Regions from separate parts of the Homo sapiens genome. Here region 2 is linked to region 1. The links are contacts of gene promoters, found by promoter capture Hi-C in human tissues and cell types (Jung and others, 2019). All regions are on one chromosome and are shown on one strand. The core of a region is centred on a gene start or on the middle of the fragment in contact, and the rest is flanking DNA. Distances in the headings are between cores, read along the strand shown.

The links. The method cuts DNA at HindIII sites, captures the fragments that hold promoters and counts their contacts. A contact is called where the count stands out against the background at its distance.
Region 2: a contact is called between a fragment that was not itself captured here and the fragment with the promoter of ZNF99 in region 1, in 4 of the 25 tissues and cell types used here (dorsolateral prefrontal cortex, liver, mesendoderm cells and 1 more).

What each region holds. Positions count from the first base shown.
Region 1 is chr19:22,779,099-22,785,570 of GRCh38, reverse strand. It overlaps ZNF99 (zinc finger protein 99), which reads left to right and starts at 1,420. Exons shown (of 4, transcript NM_001080409.3): 1 at 1,420-1,557. The coding sequence starts at 1,555. RefSeq lists an enhancer at 6,275-6,472. The HindIII fragment of the contact is 12,356 bases long and covers 1-6,323 here.
Region 2 is chr19:22,819,842-22,826,326 of GRCh38, reverse strand. It overlaps a transcript of ZNF723 not described here. Among named protein-coding and RNA genes, the nearest start is that of ZNF723, 9.2 kb to the left of the region's middle. The HindIII fragment of the contact is 3,491 bases long and covers 588-4,078 here.

The DNA.
Region 1 (6,472 bases), core at 171-2,670:
ATGTAATTGGTGCCTATACTCACACAGTCCCCCATACCACAGGAGAAAACAGATAACCACAGCCTGACCATTAGGGCCAAGGACAAATAGAAAAGTAAGTTTTCCTTTAATCTATTTTCTTCATATCTAAACATTGGAGGTCAAGACTGTGCACAGATTTGAAGACACAGAGATTTCTTCTCCTGTGGCCTTACCATCCTTAGTTCACCTTCTGATCTCTGGAATAAAGGTAGGCAACAGGTGGCCAGCAGTGGTCTACCTGTGGTTGTTTTTTCCTGCTGTCCTGTGCTTTATTTATGGCTACTATCTGTTCCTCCCTCAGAGCTGAAGAGAGATGTTGGTAGGGAAAGGCTCTTTTTCCATCTTTGGCAGAAAAGGTTTGTTCAGGCCCTTCCCTCTCCTAAGGTCAGAGCTGCACTTCAATGTGGCAGCTACTGGCCATGTGTGGCGACTGAGTGCCTGGAATGTGGCTGGTCTGAACTGTGATGTGCTGGAAAGGTAAAATACAGAGTTAGTTTCAAAGATGAAGTTCCAAAAAATATCTACACTTCATTTATAATTTACATTTTGCTTACGTATTAAGATGATATTTTGGATATATTGGGTTAATTAAATTGCTACAATAAATTCCACCTGTTTTTTTTTTTTTTAATTTTTAAAGTTTGGCTACTAGAAAATTTAAAATACAATTTTATTTCAGAGGATTGCCTTCTTTTTAAAACCTCAGGCAATCTGATGAAAAAACCAGAAGCCAGGAAGGTCATAAACTCTGAAAATTTTAGATAATTGTTATATTCTTTTCATTTGTGAATAACCATATAATATATTATTTATAAAAGAATGTGACCTTATACAAAAGGTTAAATGCAAATACCCTCTGGGGTTGGCCTGGCTCAGTTCAGGAAGGAAGCCCTGCCTGAAAAGGCTGCAGCCTAGACTGTCATCCTTTCCTTTCTTTTTCTTTTCTTTTCTTTTTTTCGTGACAGAATCTCGCTCTGTCATCCAGGCTGGAGTGCACTGGCGCGATCTCGGCTCACTGCAACCTCCGCCTCCTGAGTTTAAGCAATTCTCGTGCCTCAGCCTCCGGAGTAGCTGGGATTACAGGCGCCCGCCACCACACCAGCCTAATTTTTATTTTTAGTAGAGACCGGGTTTTGCCATGTTGGCCAGGCTGGTCTCCAACTCCTGACCTCTGGTGATTCACCCGCCTCGGCCACCCAAAGTGCTGGGATTACACGCGTGAGCCACCGCGCCCGGCCCGTCACTCTTCATTCAGCTCAGCATCAGATCACATCTTCTGTCACTCAGGGCCTGAGGAGGCGGGGATTTAAACATTATCCAATCAGGGACTCTGGGCTGGGAACCGTCCAATCAGGCACTCAGCTGGAGCGGAAAGGGCGGCTTGTGGGATGTGGCGGGGCCGTTGTTTCTGGTTCCAGCTGGAGCTCCGGATCTCGTTTTTACTGCTCTGTGTCCTTAGCCTCTGTGGCCCTGTGACCTGTAGGTATTTGGAGATCCACAGCTAGGACGCCAGGACCCCCTGGAAGCTTAGAAATGGTGAGAGTGCCGGGTCCGATATCCTGAGAAGGGGAAGGGGCTGACTGGAACCGGTGGAAAGTGGCTGTGGCGGGACTCAGGCCTCCCCTCAGTGAGCTCCACAGTCTGCGCCCCGAGCTCTTGCCCAGCTCGGCCTCAGTCTCCTTCAGCCATAAGATGGCGGCTGCGCTGACTGCGGGACCCCGGGCGACCTGCCTCCTTCCTGCACTGTGACTATGCCCTGGCCTGGAGCCCTCTCTGGGCCGCTCTTCACCCGCAGCGCCTCCTCTCTCACAGATTGTGCAGGGACCACGGGAGGGGCGTCAGGGGAGAATCCTGACTCCGGGTGCGGGTTCATGAATGGGAAGAGCTTTGGTCCAGTGAGGTTTCCAGTCCCTCTTTTCTCCTATTAAAAATTGATGGCAGTCATCACTAAAGTAATAAAGGATTTAATCAAAGAGTGATTCAAAAATGGCAGAGCACCCAGCTGTGGTTTGTAGTTTATGGTCTATGGAAGGGATTTGACGGAAAGAGTTTTATAAGGTGCATAATGAAGAAAACCAAATTCAGTAATGGGTTATGTACAGTTACGTAGATTCTTAATTTGTACAATCAAGATGGAAATTTCCCGTTTATATAATCAGAGGTTAATTGTAGTTTATAGTTGGTTAAGCCTGAATTTTGTTTCCCCCAATGTAGTAATTTACAAAAAAAAAAGCACTTGAATTATTAATATTTTTTTCTTTCTTTTTTTGAAACGGAGTTTTGTTCTTGTTGCCCAGGCTGGAGTGCAGTGGCGCGATCTCGGCTCAACGCAACTTCCGCCTCCCAGGTTCAAGCGATTCTCCTGCCTCAGCCTCCCGAGTAGCTGGGATTACAGGCATCCGCCACCACACCCGGCTAATTTTTGTGTTTTTAGTAGAGACGAGGTTTCTCCGTTTTGGTCAGGCTGGTCTCGAACTCCCGACGTCAGGTGATCTGCCCTCCTCCGCCTCCCAGAGTGCTGGGATCACAGACATGAGCCACCGCGTCCGGCCGAATTAGATTTTTTAAAAAGTAGATTATCAGGCCTGGCTCGGTGGCTTACACCTGTAATCCCAGCACTTTGGGAGGCCGAGGCGGGTGAATCACGAAGTCAGGAGTTCTAGACCAGCCTGGCTAACATGGTAAAACTCCGTCTCTAATAAAAATACAAAAATTAGCCGGGAGTGTGGCAGATGCCTGTAATCCCAGTTTCTCGGGAGGCTGAGGCAGATAATCGCTTGAACCCGGGAGGCAGAGGTTGCTGTGAGCTGAGATTGCGCCACTGCACACCAGCCTGGGCAAGAGAGGGAGACTCCCTCTCATATTAAAAAAAAAAAAAAAAAAAAAAAGGCCAGGTGCGGTGGTTCATGCCTGTAATCCCAGCACTTTGGGAAGCCGAGGCAGGCGGATCACCTGAGGTCGGGAGTTCAAGACCAGCCTGACCAACATGGAGAAACCCCATCTCTACTAAAAATACAAAAATTAGCCAGGTGTGGTGGCACATGCCTGTACCTGTAATCCTAGCTACTCGTGGGGCTGAGGCAGGAGAATTGCTTGAACCCGGGAGATAGAGGTTGCGGTGAGCCGAGATCGCGCCATTGCAGTCCATTCTGGGCAACAAGACCGAAACTGTCTTAAAAAAAAAGAAAAAAAAAAGTAGATATCAGGCACTAGAGCCACCTCAGTCTATTTGCCTGCCACTTAATTATTTTTAATTATTTTCACACTCCTCAGATGACTGATTTTCCCCTCCATTTTTTACAGGTATCTCAAGCAGAGTATTATGTCTACTCCCAAACCCCAATTCCTGCAGCCTAACTCTGGCTTGCAATAAAATACTAAACTTCCAGTTCATAATGTCAATTTTCCCTCTCTGATTCACATTACTATTTGTCCTTAGTGTACATTTTGATACTGTATTTTATTTTTTAACAAAGCATTGGATGGTACTTTTCATAATATTTGTTTTCTGTTTGTGAATATTTCCTAAGAGAAGAAAGCAAAAAATAATCCCCTGACACTGTGTTGTAAAAAATCTTTGTGCCGCTTTTTTTTTTTCCTCCTTGCTCCACAGATTTTAGCAGAATGTTTTGGGGTAAAGGTAAAGGTTTTCCTTTGGAAACTTTATGATGTGTTTTCAGCCATTCTTCAGTTTTTTCCCTGGTCCTGGGTTTCAGTACTGTCTGGGAATTAGCTAAAATATTCCCCATGGCTATGTCTGCTAGAGTGTCTAGTGAATATCAGCTCCTGGTCATTTTCTCCAGTAGGACAACCTGAGGTGTGGAGTGTAGCCTTTCAACGAAGAAGGCAGATGCCCTGGGGTTGAGAGGTCTCTCCTGGTATACTCTTCCTTTGAAAAGCTAACCCTTGAGACATTAAGATTGTCTTCACCCAACCCAGCTTCCATTTTTTGAAGACACATTGCTGGTCAGCCAATCAGATGCTGGTATTGCGGGGAAAACACAGAAATAATTTCTGCCCCCTGCATTCTTTAAGGGAGCAGAACAATAGTGAAATATAATGAAAAAATAGTGAAAGAAAAATAGTGAGAATCTGTGAAATCAAAAATAGTGTCCCAAACGACAAAAAAAAAAAAAAAAAAAAAAAGTGACCCCAATGAGATGGTGTAAGAACTTGAAAAGTTCTTACCTGGGGCACTCACTGGGGCATAGTTCAGAGTCTCCTGAGAAGGAGTTATTGGGCACTTAAGTGAGGAGAATGGGGTGGGAGAATCTCTTAAGTGATTGGATGGCCTGACTTGACACATGAATCAGACACATCTGTACCTTGAAAAGATTTGTTCACTTATTTTGACCTCAGTTTTTTAACTGTAAATTGCATTTTGTTAGTAGGGATTGAAAGGTAAGAAAATACTTAACCAAGGGCAAAAAAGAGATGGGTTTCAGAATAAAATTAATATTGAATTGTATATTCCATTTGTTAAAAATTTTCATTTACCTTTTTCCCAGAATGACTTTAGGAATTTTCTCTGGTGTGTTTTTTATGGTTGGGTGATTTTAAACAGAATTTCAAGGCTTGACTTTTCAAATGCTACCAAGGAAGAAAAATAGGGAAAATCTCTCTTCCATTTTGGCTTTAGAAAATGCACATATTTCCACAAGAAAAGGTGGTAATTGGTGAGTTCCTTAGATTCATGAAAACATCAGTTCCTCCTTTTGCAGGGTAAATTTGTAACAGTGACTATCTCTATTCTGTATCCTATTACTTTGCTATCTGAGTTTCATGCTGAAACTTTGTACCTTCTAGAAATGTTTCCATATGACTAATTGTTTGCTACATGATTTTTTTTTTTTTTTTTGAAACAGAGTTTCATTCTTGTTGCCCAGGCTGGAGTGCAATGGCACGATCTTGGCTGACTGTAACCTCTGCCTCCCGGGTTCAAGTGATTCTCCTGCCTCAGCCTCCCGAGTAGCTGGGATTACAGATATGTGCCACCACGCCGCTAATTTTGTATTTTTAGTAGAGACGGGGGTTTCTCCATGTTGGCCATGCTGGTCTCGAACTCCCAACCTCAGGTGATCCGCCCGCCTCAGCCTCCCAAAGTGCTGGGATTACAGGCATGAGCCACCACGCCTGGCCTACTACATGATTTTTAATGGAAATAGTAAAATAATACATTTATTGTCTGAAAAGAATAGATACTTTTGTTTCTCTTATTGAGATATAAAGTGTAAGCACCTTAAAATTTCCTTCCCTTATATGAACACTGTGTTAGAGTAATTGCACTGAATTTTTCGAACACTTACTTTCAAAAACCAAGGGAATAACTCTGACATGAAGATTAAAGCCTGAGCCCAGTGACTCTAAGCTAAGGCTAATACTGAGCCTGCAAAAGGAGGTTATTAAAGGATCAGTTAGTTTTTTCTGGGGAGTCTTCTCTGCAGATATCCCAGCCTGCTCACCCCAGTCATGGAAGGAGACTTTATCCTGAGGGAAGCCACAGAACCCTGGAAAGCTGGGGACCCACAGGCAGATGCAGTTAAGGTTAAGATGAAAGGGGATTGGGAGGGTCTTACTGAAGATGAAATTGTTATTGTTTTGAGATAGTTTCTAGACTTTGTAAAATAAAACGAAGTTAGATTTATGTTGAAAAAAGAATTGAATTCCAAAAGGGTATTGCAACAGGAGGAAATACCAACTATAAGATCTTTAAGGATTGCTAAGTTTAGGCAGACAAGGGCCTTGTTTCATATGGAAGAGCAAACCATATTAGAGAGGAGGTCGGAGGGGATGGCGAATGGAGGGTGAAAGAAAGAGATTTTAGATCAGAGAATGTTTTACACTGAAGTCATCATGTACTTAGGAACTACATAAAAATAAGGTTGTATGTTGACTCAGACTGAGGGTAGCTCAAAGTTCAGAAGCCTGTTTAAATAAGTAATGTTTGATTAAGAAATATTTTAGGTTGACCACTGAAAACAAACTCAGCTGATTTATTTATTTATTTTTATTATTATTATTTTTTGAGACAGAGTCTCACTCTGTTGCTGAGGCTGGAGTGCAGTGGCACGATCTTGACTCAACTGCAACCTCCGCCTCCCGGGTTCAAGCTATTCTCCTGCCTTAGCCTCCTGAGGAGCTGGGACTACAGGCATCTGCCATCATGCCTGGCTAATTTTTGTGTTTTTAGTAGAGACCGTGTTTCACCATATTGGCCAAGCTGGTCTCGAACTCCTGACCTTTTGATCCGCCTGCCTCAGCCTCCCAAAGTGCTAGGATTACACGCATGAGCTACCGCGCCCGGCCCGATTTATTTATTTATTTTTTAATGAGAAAAAGGAGACAATGTGCAGAGTCTGTGTCTGGCTATGTGATAGGTAAGAAAAGAGAGCACCATCGAAGTCATAATGGGAAGGGTGTTTCTTTCCAGAAACTGTTCCTGGAGCACACA
Region 2 (6,485 bases), core at 1,084-3,583, 40 kb before region 1:
TTCATCCCTGTTAGCCGGGCATAGGTATATGTCACAATTCCACCTGGGAGCAGAGACCAGGCTAGAGCATCACATCCCCTGGGCACTGGACCAGAAATATGTCACAGTTCCCCTATGGGCAGGACCCAGGCAAGAGAGTCACATCACCTAAATGCTGGGCCTAGTGAAATGTCACAATGCCCCCAGTGGGCAAGGCTCAAAAACAGAATCAGATTACCTGGATGCTCAGCCCAGTGATATGATCCAAGCTTTCCTGTGGGTAAAGCACAGGCAGAAGAAGAGAGTCACATCATCTAGGTGATGAACCCAAAGATATGTCAAAATGTCCCCTGTGAGCAAGGCTAAGGCAGGAGAGTCACATCACCCAGGTGCTAGACTCAGCAATATGTCGTAATTTGCTCTATAAGCAGGGCCTGGGCAGGAGAGGAGAGTCACATTATCTAGGTGCTGGGTCCACTTACATGTCACAATACCATCCTGTGAACACTGCCCATGCAGTAAAATCACATTATCATAATGTTGGGCACTGCAGTATGTCACCATGCCCCTGTATGCAGAAGCCAAACAGGAGAGGATATTCACTTCACCTGGGTGCTGGGCCCAGTGATATGTCACCATCCCTAATGTGGGCAGGGCCCAGACATGGGAGGAGAGTCATATCACCTAGGTGTTGGGCTCAGTGATATGCCACAATGCTCCCAGTGTGTAGGAACCAGGCAGGAGAAAAGAATCACATCACTAATGTGCTGGGCCCAGCAATATGTCAAAATCTCCTTTGAGGGCAGCACCCAGGAAAGAAAGTTACATCACCTAGATTCTTGACTCAATTCATGTCACAACACCATCTAAGGGCTTGGCCTACACAGACGAGTGGAATTACTCAAATGCTAGGCAAATAGGTCTGTAAAAATCACACATTCATGAAGCTTCTGTGGTTAGATTTATAATTCTGCACATGTCTCAGCTTTAGTTATGAGAGTCAACATCTCCTGTGAGTTATGTGCAAGTACAGGACTCACCATTTCAATGATATATCGGATCTGTGAATGAGAGTCCCAATCCCACCCAAGGACGGTGTCCTGGTATGAAAGTCACAGGCTCACCGGCATGTTGAATTCTTTCTCAAGAGTCACTACCCCACCTGTGGATGGGATCCACATATGAGAGTCACAATTTTAACTTTCGATTGCCTCTTAGTGTCAGATTCAGAACCTCAAGGTGATCAGTGTCCCTGTGGGAGGGTGACAACTTTTACATTTGGGTGGGTGTGCATATAAGAATCACAATGTCACCTCCGTGATTGGTACTGCTATGACATTCCATGTACCACTCAAAGGCTTTGTATAATATTCCTGAGAGTCACAATCTGCTCTGAGACTCTTGTGCTGTTATGACCCATGATTGTACCCTTGCCCTAAGCACAGGTATTAGAGTCAACCTCTCTCTAATTTGCTGCATCCAGGTATTAGAGTCATCATTACACCTGTCAGTTGGGTTCAGAAGTTAATTACCATCCTACCTGTGGCTAGATCCACATATACCAGTCACAATTCCAACTGTGAACAGCATTTACATGTGAGATTTGGGACCTTAACTGTAGGCTAAAAACATGTGTGTGGGTAAAAATTCTAACTATTGGCTGGGTGTGCATTTGAGAGTCAAAATTTCACCTGTGTGCTGGGCTTTGTTATGACACTCTCTGCACCAGCTGAAAGCTTTATACAATTTGCATGAGTATTGTAATTTTCTCTGACCTTTCATGCAAGTAACAGACGAAGACTTTACCTGTTGCCCAAAGCCTAGCAGACAGAATCAATATTTCTCCTGGTTTGTGGGTTGAAGTTTGTGGGTGTCATCATTGTACCAGTGACCACGTCCCAGGCATATGTCACAATCCCACCTGTAGCTAGGAACCAGGAAGAAGAGTCACATCACTTGGATGCTAGGACAGGAATATCTCAATCTGCACTATGAGCAGGATCAAGAAAGAAGAGAGTCACACCAACTGGGTTCTGGGCCTAGCGATATTCCACAGTCTTTCATGTTGCAGGTCCCAAGCAGAAGAGGACAGTCACATTACTTAGAAGATGGGCCCAGTAATATGTAACAATGCCCACTGTGGGCAAGGCCCAGGCAAGAGAGGATTGTTGCATTATCCTGGTTTCAGCAATATGTTGTAATTCCCACGGTTAGCAGGGCTTAGCAAAAGAAGTGAGTCACAAAATTTATGTGCTAGTTTAAGCAATAGTTTAAAATCCCTTCTGTTGGCAGGGGCCAGGCAGCAGAGAAGACTCAAATTACCTAGGTGCTGGGTCCAGCAACATGTCATAAGTTCTTCTGAGGGTGAGATCCAGGCATAAGCAAAGACTCATTTAACTTATGTAATTGGCCCAGAAATATGTCACAGTGTCTTATGTGGGGAGAACTATGGCAGAAGAAGTACATCACATAGGTGCTGGGCTCAGTGATATGACACAATCTTTCTTGTAGGCAAGGCCTAGGCACAAGAGGAGAGTCACATCACCCACGTGCTGGATTCAGAAATATGTCACAATTACTTCTAAGTGACAGGTTCAGGCAGATGAGAAGAGTCATATTACCTTGGTGCTTGGCCTTGGTATATGTCACAATTCCATCTATGGGCTGGGCTCAGGCAGGAAACTAAAATCACTCAGGGTATGGGCAAAGACATATGCCACAATCACACCTGCAGAAAGATTCAGGGATGAGATAAACAATCCCAAACACTTCCAGCTCTAGAGATCATAGTCAAGATCTTCTGAGTGTTTGGTCTAAGTATGCGAGTCAGAATCTCAATAGTAGACTGGATTTGTGCATGACAGCCTCAATTCTTAGACTGTGTCCTGGTAGAAGAGTCACAGCCTCACCGGTGTGTTGAATGTTGGTCCAAGATTCACTATCTCGTCTGTGGACCTGATCCTCATATGAGAGTCACAATTCTAACTTTCAGCTCCTTTGAGTTTGAGATTCAGAACCTCAACAGTGGACTGTGGCTATTTAAGAAGGTGAAAATTCTTACTGTGAACTGGGCGTGCATACCAGAGTCACTATCTCACCTGTGCACTGGGCCCTGTTACCACACTCTTGGTGACACCTGAGGGCTTTATACGGTATGCCTGAGAGCCACAACCCACTCTTGGATCTATGTGCTGGTATAAACTCATAATCTTACCCATTGTCCTAAGCCCAGGAATGAGAGCTAACATCTCTCTTATTGGCTAGATCCAGGTGTGAGAGTTCTCACTATGCCTGTGAGTTGGATACAGAAGTGAGTCACCATTTTACCTGTGGCCAGATCCAAATATAACAGTCACAATTTCAACTGTGGACTGCATCCACATGTGATATTTAGGACCAAACCAGAAGTCTTTTTCCATTTGTGAGAATGACAGCCCTCATTGTTGGCAGGGTATGCCTATGAGAATCACAATTTTTTTCTTTTTTGAGATGGAGTCTCACTCTGTTGTCCAGGCTGGAGTGCAGTGGCGCGATCTCAGCTCACTGCAAGCTTTGCCTCCCAGGTTCACGCAATTCTCCTGCCTCAGCCTCCTGAGTAGCTGGGACTACAGGCACCCACCACCACACCCAGCTAATTTTTTGTATTTTTAGTAGTGACAGCGTTTCACCATGTTAGCCAGGATGGTCTTGATCTCCTGACCTCGTGATCCGCCTGCCTCGGCCTCCCAAACTGATGGAATTACAGGCATGCGCCACTGCCCCCAGCTGAGAATCACAATTTTAACTGTGTGCTGGAAACTGTTATGACACTCTCTGTACCATTGGAAGGGATCATACAACATGCATGAGTTTTACAATCTTCTGTGACCTTCATACAAGTAGAAAGCCCAGGACCTTGCCCATTGCTTGAAGGCTACCTATAAGAGTCAACATATCTCCTATTGGCTAGGTCCAGGTAATGCAACTAATCACTGTGCCTCTGAGCTGGGTCCAGAAATCAGTCACTATTCAACCTGTTCCCAGATTTACATATGACAGTCAGAATTTTAACTGTGAACTGCATCTGCATGTGAGGTTCAGGACATCACCAGTGTGCTTCTTTCATGTTTGGAAGTGACAATCCTAATTGTTGGCTTGGTATGCCTGTGAGAAGTCACAATCTTACCTGTGTGGTAGACCCTATTATTACATTCTCTGTAGCACACAAAGTATTTCTAAAGTATGCATAATTTTTTTTGAGATGGAGTCTCGCTCTTGTCACCCAGACTGGAGTACGATGGCATGATATCAGCTCACTGCAACCTCTGCCACCCGGGTTCAAGTGATTCTCCTGCCTCAGCCTCCTGAGTAGCTGGGATTACAGACGCACACCACCACAACTGGCTAATTTTTTGTATTTTTAGTAGAGATGGGGTTTCACCATATTGGGCAGGCTGGTCTTGAACTCCTGACCTCAGGTGATCCACCCGCCTTGGCCCCCCAGAGGACTGGGATTACAGGCATGAGCCACTGCACCTGGCCAATTATGCATAAATTTTATAAACCTCTGTGACCTTTCTAAACGTAGGTGATCCAGGACTCTACCCACTGTCCAAAATCTAGCTAAGAGAGTCAAAATTACTCTTATTGGCTGGGTTCCCATATAAGCTTGACTATAATGTCTAAGAGCTTGAAAATACATATGTCTAAATTTAAGCTGTGTGAATGGAGCAGGCAAGAGATTCAGATCACCTGAATGCTGGACCAAAAATACGTCAATGTCCACTCTGTGGGCAGGGCTGTGGCAGTAAAGTCACATAACCTGGGTACTGGGCCCAGGAGTATTTCACAGTGCCTTCTGTGGGCAGGGTTCAGGCAGGAAAGTCACATTATCTGCATGCAGGACACAGCAATATGTCACAATCCACCCTGTGTAAAGGGCCCAGGCAGGAGAGAATATATAACCTAGGCGATGGGTCCAGCAGGATGTCACAATTCTCCCTGAGGACAGGGTCTACGCAGGAGAGTAAAATACCTTAGATGCTTGCACCAGGCATGTGTCACAATTCCATTTTGAGGCTTTACCCAGGCAGGATAGTCAAATCACTCAGGTGCTGGACCAAGGTATATGTCACAATCACGCCTGCAAGCAGGTCCAGAAATGAGATTCAAAATTCCATACATTTTCTGGCTCCAGGTATGAAAGTCAAGACCTTCTTTATGTTTGGTCCAAGTACATGAGTCACCGTCTTAATGGTGGACTGTATTCCTGCGTGAAGACACAATTTCAAATGCAAACTGAGTCTCAATATCTGAATCACAGCCTCACAGCTGTGCTGAATCCTGTTCATTGAGTTACCATTCTACCTATGGACAAGATCCATGTATGAGAGTCACAATTCCAACTTTTGACTACCTCCACGTGGGAGATTCACAGCCTCAACAGTGGATGGTTTCCATTTAGGAGGGTGACAATGTTTACTGTTGGCTGAGTGTGCATAGGAGAGTCACAGTTTTACCTGTGTTCTCAAAAGTGGGCTCTGTTCATATGTAAGGGTGACAGTTCTAATGGTTCACAGGGTGTGCATATGAGAAACACCGTATCACGTGTGTGCCGTGCTGGACCATATGATGACACTTTCTGTCCCATCAAACTGCTTTATACCATAAGCAAGAGAGTGGTAATTTGATATTATTTTTATGCAAACAGGAGACCCAGGATCTTACCTGTTTCTCTAAACCTAGCTAGAAGAGACAGTATATCTCTTATTGGATGGTTTGAGGTATTAGAGTCATTATTGCATCTATGATCTGAACAAAGACATATGTCACAATCCCACCTGTGGATAGGAAGGAAGCAGGAGAGTCACATTACCTGGGTCTTGAGTCAGGAATATATTATAATATTCTCTGAGAGAAGGGACCCGGAAGAAGAGTCACATCATCTGGTTTTCTGCCAGGGATATGTGAATATCCTCTAATGAAAGCAGGGCACAGGCAGCAGAGTCAAATCACTTGGGTGCTGAGTCCAGTGATATGTCACAATTCTCCCTGTGAACAAGGCCTAGGCAGGAGAGACACACCACCTGGTTTGGGGGCCCATGAGTATTTCACAATTTTTCCTATGGGCAGCGTGCAGGCAGAAAAGGGTCACATCTTTTAAGTGACACGTGCAGAGATATGTCATGAGGTCCACTGTGAGCATGGCAGAGAAAGGAGATTTCCAACCCCTAGGTGTTGGGCCCAGCCATGTATCAGAATACTAAAAATATGTGGGGGCTGGATAAAATAGGAGAGTCACATCACCTGGGTGCTTGGTCCAGTGATATGTTACAATCCCCCCTTTTGGCATGGCCCAGGCAGAAAAGGAGAGTCACATAACACAGGTAATAAATGAAAAGACATGTCATAGTATGCTGTATGAAAGCTCCAGGCAGAAGAGTCAAATCACCTAGGTGTTTGACCCACACATATGTCACAATACACAATGTATGCAGGGCCTGGGAAAAAGAGGAGAATCACTTCAC